Regions from separate parts of the Homo sapiens genome. Here region 1 is linked to region 2. Evidence: promoter capture Hi-C in 16 types of primary human blood cells and fetal thymus (Javierre and others, 2016). All regions are on one chromosome and are shown on one strand. Each heading gives the region's core, a stretch centred on a gene start or on the middle of the fragment in contact. The rest is flanking DNA. Distances are from core to core; before and after follow the strand shown.

What was found. The method cuts DNA at HindIII sites, captures the fragments that hold promoters and counts their contacts. A CHiCAGO score of 5 or more calls a contact.
Region 1: a fragment that was not itself captured here is called in contact with the fragment with the promoter of SLC14A2 in region 2 in 1 of 17 cell types (endothelial precursors); the score reaches 5.3 in endothelial precursors.

What each region holds. Positions count from the first base shown.
Region 1 is chr18:43,620,561-43,624,444 of GRCh38, forward strand. No RefSeq gene overlaps it. Among named protein-coding and RNA genes, the nearest start is that of SYT4, 350 kb to the left of the region's middle. The HindIII fragment of the contact is 956 bases long and covers 1,988-2,943 here.
Region 2 is chr18:45,612,951-45,617,154 of GRCh38, forward strand. SLC14A2 (solute carrier family 14 member 2) reads left to right here and starts at 2,526. Exons shown (of 20, transcript NM_007163.4): 1 at 2,526-2,632. All of the region lies in intron 8 of LOC105372093 (a long non-coding RNA gene), which reads right to left. The HindIII fragment of the contact is 14,354 bases long and covers 1-4,204 here.

The DNA of each region.
Region 1 (3,884 bases), core at 1,216-3,715, 2.0 Mb before region 2:
AAACAGAGAAAGAAGTATTTGAAGTGAAAACATTGATGGGAGAAAAATAAATGAACACTGGTTTTCTCCTACCCCATGGTTTCCACAGACTTGGATAAGTAAAAGTAAAATTAGCATATTAATGAGATAGATACATCTTTGAATGAACCCAGCAAAAACAAAATAAAATACAACAAAAAGTGATGTGAGGTTTAAAATTTATTCTTTTCCACCCAAGTTGGGGCTTGGTAGTGAGGATTGGTCTGCTAGTAGGGATGGCTCAAGAGAAAGCAAAAGACTAGCATCAATGAGTCAAGAATAAATCTGTGATAGTGCTTTCATTTAAATAATAGGAAACTCAGCCCCTACTTAGTGCAGAGCCTTGTACACACTAACGATGGATGCATACATTAAGTTCTTTGCCCAGTATGTTCCTTTCTTACTGGACAGCTTGTTGAAAATGCAAGACCACAGGCCCATACCCAACAGATTTTGGGGTAGGGCCAAAAGTTAGCATTTTTGATGTGCAGGTGAGGTGATCTAATGTCACACTGAAAAATAATAGAAATGTGATTACTTCTTTGAACAACAGATGGCAGTAGAGTCAAAAGAAAGATTTTCCTAGCCCCAGCAATTGTCAGGAAACAGAGGCGTGGTATCTTTGACCCTTCTCCTTTGCAAAGGAATGCTTTAGAAAATAAAGAGCTTCTTTAAAAGTTTGCCAGCTCAAAACATCATTCTTATCATATATGATTCTTTTACCCGATGACACCTTATATGTTTTCAGTAATTAAAAATTTTTTAAACTTTTAAAAAATATCTATTATTGCATTGTCCTGCTCCACGAAGACTATTTACTCTACCCACTCACCTACTCAAAATTTATATTTGAAATGATTATTTATAATCATTAAAATAATATTTGAGTATCTACACGGTTTGCTATTTTATCTACTCAACAAAGCTAATGCAATTTTAAGTTTGTGCAGTTTATTCCAGGGTAGACTCTGGGAAACCATACTCACATACTTCTGAGAGATACAAATAAATACAAAGATAATTAAGGGCAAGAGAATTTGGTAAATGATATCAGTCCATCCTTGGAAAATTCAATATTTTTTCAGCATGAGATGACATGAGGGTTGGGGCCTAAGTTTCCAAAAACAGTAAGTCCAACAGAGAGATGGGAGAGAGAGGTCATAGGAGGGAATATTCCCTGCAGGGGACCCCATTTTGCAAAAAATGGTGACTTAGGGGAATCTCAGGTAACTTAGTATGACTGGGGCAAAGATTTCAGGTGGGATATAAAATAAATTTAGTCAGAATAAGAGGAGACCAGACCATTAAAAGTCTCAATTCCCAAGCTAAGAAACTTGGAGTGTTCAAAGTACAATACCATGGAGTATAAAGTAGGCAAGTACAAAGCTCAGTCACATCCATTGTACCCTTTGGTCTTCATAAAACCAGATGAGGTGGTCAGGAAAGAATTCTGATAAAAATGTATTAGAGGAAGATACAAAGTATTGGAAGTATTAAGTAATATCCCCCAAGATCATACACCTCTGTTTGGAACAGACCTAGAAAGAGAAAGAGGCTTCTGAGTTATGCTCAATATTCTGCCCAAGACATTCAACAGCCTCATGCCCTACATGCACTTGGCCCGCAAGACATAACCACTTCCACAATTCACTGAGCACCCACTTTGAGTCTGTCAAAGATTAAATCTTTCACATGAAACCTACCCGGAGAGCTATTAAGCCCATCAAACAGACAAGGATGTTGTGACTCTGAAAGTCAGGAAGGTGGAACAAATTTTAGAGAATGAAGGGTTCGAGGAATGTAAATTTTATTGGTCTTAACTTTAGATATGTTTCCTATCCAGCTGTGTCAGGAGCAATGAAATAATGTGCTCTGCTCGCTCTTGATCTTTGGGCATTTGTGGTTGAGAAAGCATTGTGTTTAGAACTATAGAAAAATGACAGAAAATTAAACATTCCTGTAAATTTCAAGCTTTCCTATTTCTTGAATTGACCTTATCTTCAGACTGAAACATCCTCATTTTGTACTCCTAAACAGATCATATGAAGTTCATATTAATATTCATGCCTTACAGATGAGGAAATTGAGATCCAGTGAGGTTAAATCACTTGTACCTACACAGCTAATAAATGTCAGGCAGACAAAGCAAATTGTAGGACACAACGAGTAAGATGTTATTCAGCCTATTTATATGAATAGCATATAAAGATAATAAAGATAGATTATCTTTGTAATATTTCATTTTCTGATTATAAAATAAGGTATCTTCATTGAAATTTGAAAAGAAAATAAATTTTTGTCATCCAAACAACTAAATACTATAACTATATATAATATAAAAGGAAAATATTCTAAAGAAAGTAATGATAAGCACTTAACATTCTATCGCATCAAAGTTTCTCAAAAAACTGTCCTCATCAATAGAAGGCAATAGTAGCAAGTTCACAACATATTTAATGGATATATACTAAAATCATCACCCTACAGCTCTATCACCCTATGATCATCAGCCTACTAATAATTTTTGATTCATGGAAAATATAATAAGCATTTACAAAATTATAAGTCATGCTGTCTATGTTGAATTAAAACTTTAATATCTAAATAAAACAAGAATAAGCACTCATACATTCTAGATAGGGAATATTAAAAATAAAGACAGGACCTGTGAAGTAAACCAAACTTGTACCCGGAGGGAAATTCATTGCTTCCAATGTTCTTTTATTATTTATTACTATTATTATTATTATAAAAATAGAAAATCTAGGAAACATTCCTTTCAAATTAGTGACATTCTAGTTATCACATGACAGGAAAAGATAAGAGAATGACATTAGGAAGATGACAGAATTGCAATAAATATCTCAATCATATTTGAGTGATGTCTTAGAATTCTTTTGAGAGCAAGTGACAAAAACTCAAAGAAGCTTAACCAAGGAAAGTTTTTTTAAAAAAATTCAGTAAATTTTAAAAAAGCTAATAGACATGACAGAATAAATTAAGTAATCAGGGCTATTGTGGACCAATAGGACAGAAAGCACATGGTTGATGCCCTCGCTCCCTTGCTCTATTTTGCTCTCTCTCGCTTTTTTCCCTTGGTTAGTTTCTTCTTCAGGAGACTGCAAAATGGCCAGAATATTCCTCACCTTTTAGATTTTTCACATGAGAAGCAATAGGTTTGTCTCACAAGCTATAGTTCAAACAAGCTTGTGGAAGAATGTTTCAAAGCCTCACTTGAGTCATTTACCATTTCAAAAACAATATATTCTCCTCCCCTTTGGACAAAGGTAAATTTTCATTAAAATTATGGGGAAATCATTCTTGGAAGCCCAAACCAAAGGATGATACCAAGTGTTCCTAAAATGAAATTACGTGATAGAAATAATATAAGATTGTGGAAGTGAGAGCCAACTTTCCACCCTCAGCTTGAACTGGAAGAGATGCTGCACTGAGACATAATAAAAGTACCAAAAACCACCCATAAAAATAAAAGAAAGCAAATAAAGATATAAGATTTAAAAATAAATATACATATACAAATGGAAAACTATGAACTTAATAAATAATGCAGGCCAAGCACAGTGGCTCACACCTATAATCCCAGCATTTTGGGGGACTGAGGTGGGTGACTAGCTTCAGCCCAGGAGTTCAAGACCAGCCTGGACCACATAATGAAACCTCACTTCAACAAAAAATATAAAAATTGGCTGGGCATGGTGGCACACCTATAGTCCCAGCTACTCAGGAGGCTAAGGTGGAAGGATTACTTGAGCCCAAGAGGCTGAGGTTACAGTGAGCCAATATTGGGCCATTGCACTCCAGCCTGGGCAACAGACTGAGACACTGTCTATAAATAAATAAATAAA
Region 2 (4,204 bases), core at 1,276-3,775:
AGTTTCCTCAGGTCTCCCCAGCATTGTGGAAATGTGAGTCAATTAAACCTCTTTCCTTTATAAATTACCCAGTCTTTGGCAGTTTTTTTTTGTTGTTGTTTTTTGAGACAGTCTCACTCTGTCGCCCAGGCTGGAGTGCAGTAGCGCAATCTCGGCTCACTGCAAGCTCCGCCTCCCAGGTCCACACAATTCTCCTGCCTCAGCCTCCCGAGTAGCTGGGACTACAGGCGCCCGCCACCATGCCCAGCTAATTTTTTGTATTTTTAGTAGAGATGGGGTTTCACCGTGGTCTTGATCTCCTGACCTCGTGATCCGCCCGCCTCAGCCTCCCAAAGTGCTGGGATTACAGGTGTGAGCCACTGCGCCTGGCCAGCAGTTTTTATAACAGTATGAAAACAGACTAATACAGTAAATTGGTACCAAGATAGTGGGACAGTGCTATAAAGATACTTGAAAATGTGGAAGCAAGTAGGGAACTGGGTAACAGGCAGAGGTTGGAACAGTTTGGAGAGCTCGGAGGAAGATAGATAGAAAGATGTGGGAAAGTTTGGAACTTCCTAAAGACTTGCTGAATGATTTTGACCAAAATGCTGATAGTGATATGAACAGTGAAGTCCAGGCAGAGGTGGTCTCAAATGGAGATGAGGAACTTGTTGGGAACTGGAGTAAAGGTCACTCTTGCTATGCTTTAGCAAAGAGACTGGTGGCATTTTGCCACCTCCCTAGAGATCTGTGGAACTTTGAACTTGAGAGAGACGATTTAGGATATCTGGCAGAAGAAATTTCTAAGCAGCAAAGCATTCAAGAGGTGACCTCGGTGCTCTTAAAAGGATTCAATTTTATGCATTTACAGAGAGATTGTTTGAAATTGGAACTTATGTTTAAAAGAGAAGTAGAGCATAAAAGTTGGGAAAATTTGCAGCCTGACGATGTGATGGAAAGAAAAACTCATTTTCTGGGGAGAAATTCAAGCTGGCTGCAGAAATTTGTCTAACCAGAAGCCAAATGTTAATCGCCAAGACAATGGGGAAGATTACTCCAGGGCATGTCAGAGAACTTTGCAGCAACCCTACCATCCTGGGCCCAGAGGCCTAGGAGGAAAAACAATGGGCTGGTCCAGGGCCCCACTACTGCCCTATGCAGCCTCGGGACTTGGTACCCTGCATCCCAGCCATGGCTAAAAGGGGCCAGTGTACAGTTCAGGCCATTGCTTCAGAGGGTGCAAGCCTCAACCCATGGCGGCTTCCATGTGGTGTTGAGCCTGCAGGTGCACAGAAGTCAAGAATTGAGGTTTGGGAACCTCCACTTAGATTTCAGAGGATGTATGAAACGCCAGGATGTCCAGGCAAAAGTTTGCTGCAGGGGTAGAGACCTCATAGAGAACCTCTGCTAGGGCAGTGCAGAAGGGAAATGTGAAGTTGGAGCCCCCACACAGAGTCCCCACTGGAGGACTGCCTAGTGGAGCTGTGAGAAGAGGACCACCGTACTCCAGACCCCAGAATGGTAAATCCACTGTCAGCTTGCACTCTGCACCTGGAAGAGCCACAGACACTCAACACCAGCCTGCGAAAGCAGCAGGAGGAGAGCTATACCCTGCAAAGCCACAGAAGCAGAGCTGCCTGAGTCTGTGGGAGCCCACCTCTTGCATCAGCATGACCTGGATATGAGACATGGAGTCAAAGGAGATTATTTTTGAGATTTAAGATTTAATGACTGCACCACTGGATTTTGGACTTGCGTGGGGCCTGTAGCCCTTTGTTTTGGCCAATTTCTCCCATTTGAAATGGGAGCATTTATCCAATGCCTCCTGCACCCCCACTGTATCTTGGAAGTAACTAACTTGCTTTTTTTTTTTTTTTTTTTTTTGAGACACAGTTTGCTCTGTCACCCAGGCTGGAGTACATTGGCACTATCTTGGCTCACTGCAACCTCCACCTCCCAGGTTCAAGAGATTCTTCTGTCTCAGCCTCCCAGTAGCTAGGACTACAAGTGTGTGCCACCACACCCTGCTAATTTTTGTATTTTTAGTAGAGACAGGGTTTCACCACATTGGCCAGGCTGGTCTCGAACTTCTGACGTCAAGTGATCCACCCGACTCGGCCTCTCAAAGTGCTGGGATTACAGGCGTGGGCCGCCGCACCCGGCCATTTGCTTTTGATTTTACTGGCTCATAGGTGGAAGGGACTTGCCTTGCCTCAGATGAAACTTTGGACTTTGACTTTCAAGTTAATACTGGAATAAGTTAAGACTTTGGGGGACTGTTGCTAAGGCACAATTTTGTTTTGAAATGTATAAAGAACATAATATCTGGGAGGGGCCAGGGGCAGAATGATATGGTTTGGCTCTGTGTCCACACCTGAATATCATCTCAAATTGTAATCCCAGTAATCCCCATATGTTGAGGGCAGGACCCAGGGCAAGGTGACTGGATCATGGGAGCGGTTTCCCCCATGCTGTTCTCGTGATAGTGAGTGAATTCTCACAAGATCTGATGGTTTTATAAGTGTTTGGCAAGTTCCTGCTCCACACCATCTCTCTCTTCTGCCGCCATTTGAGAAGGTCCAAGTTTGCTTCCCCTTCGCCTTCCACCATGACTGTAAGTTTCCTGAGGCCTCCCCAGCAATGTGGAAGTGTGAGTCAATTAAATTTCTTTTTTTTTTTTTTCTAATAAATCACCCACTCTCAGGTAGTTCTTTATAGCAGTATGAGAATGGACTATTGCAGTGGGGGAGCCAGGATTTGAATCCAGGTATTCTGTCTCCACTGTGCCACCACTGTCTAATAACACTAAAATTAACTACCTAGAGCCACCTCGGGGCAGCTTGTGTATATAAGTATGTGTGCATGTGTGTATGTGTAGGGGTGTATGTGTGTGTGTGTGTGTGTGAGAGAGAGAGAGAGAGAGAGAGGGAGAGAGAGAGACTACTACATTGTGAAATAGTCCACCACACAAGCCAGAGCAGAGGTCACCATGCTCCTAAGAGGCCAGGAAGGCACCATGGCCATGTTAGGGGTGGGTGTGTGAGCAGGATGTGTGTGAGTAAAGGAGATCAATATTCGTGCATGTGGAACTGAATTGGAGGTAGCTGTGGGACCTCAGGAGGCCACCTGCCCAGAACAGTGGCACACACTGCAGAGAAGCTGAAAATTGTCTTGGGCACAAGTGGAGCACCCCTGGGTAGAACCGAGGGAGATTGAGAACAGTTGCTATCTTCAGAGCTTTTTAACTTCTCCCCCTAAGTAGCCTCAACTGATGGGAGAATTGACACATTACCCCTACGTAATAGGTGGGCACAGCCTGAAGCAGCCACCTGCAGACTCTACATTTCTTCCCTTTATATTTTATTTTAATAATATAAAGAGTTGCATTTGACTATTTTATAAACCATGTTTGCTTAAATATACAACTATTATTCTATATTAGTTCATATCAAGCTCAATCAGCATTCCAGAAAACTGTGCTTCTCAGTGCCCTGGGCATTGACTACTCTGGCTCAGAGTTTCATGCCCAGTTTCAGGAGCGAAGCACTCAGACATGGAGCACCTCAGAAGGTTTTTGAGCAGTGGCACGACCAAGTCATGTTTTAAGATAATTTACCCATCACCAGTGGCAAGGTGGAGAAAAACTGGGGAGACTGAAGTGAGGGAAATCAGCTAGAAGGTGACCTGCGTTGGGGAGGGCCTGGCTTAAAGGGAGATAATGGGCTGATCCAGACTGAGGGCTCTGAAGGAGAACTCGATGGCTGAATAATTGCAACTGATGGAATGCAAGAGGCAATAAATAAATTGCCATTTATTCATGGGATGAGAGGGCTCAATATGTGGAACATTGAAGGGTCACCCCACTTTAGAAGTGTCACATAAGGACCGGGTGCAGTGGCTCACACCTGTAATCCTAGCACTTTGAAAGACCAAGGTGGGCGGATTGCCTGAGCTCAGGAGTCTGAGACCAGTCTGGGCAACATGATGAAACCCCGTCTCTACTAAAATACAAAAAATTGGCTGGGCATGGTGGTGTGCGCCGGTAGTCCCAGCTACTAAGGAGGCTGAGGCAGGAGAATTGCTTGAACCCGGGAGGTGGAGGTTGCAGGGAGCCGAGATTGCGCCACTGCACTCTAGCCTGGGCAACAGTGGAGACTCCATCTAAAACAAAGAAAAAAGTGTCACATAAGAAGGGTGTGACGATCTCCTATGAGATTCTTCC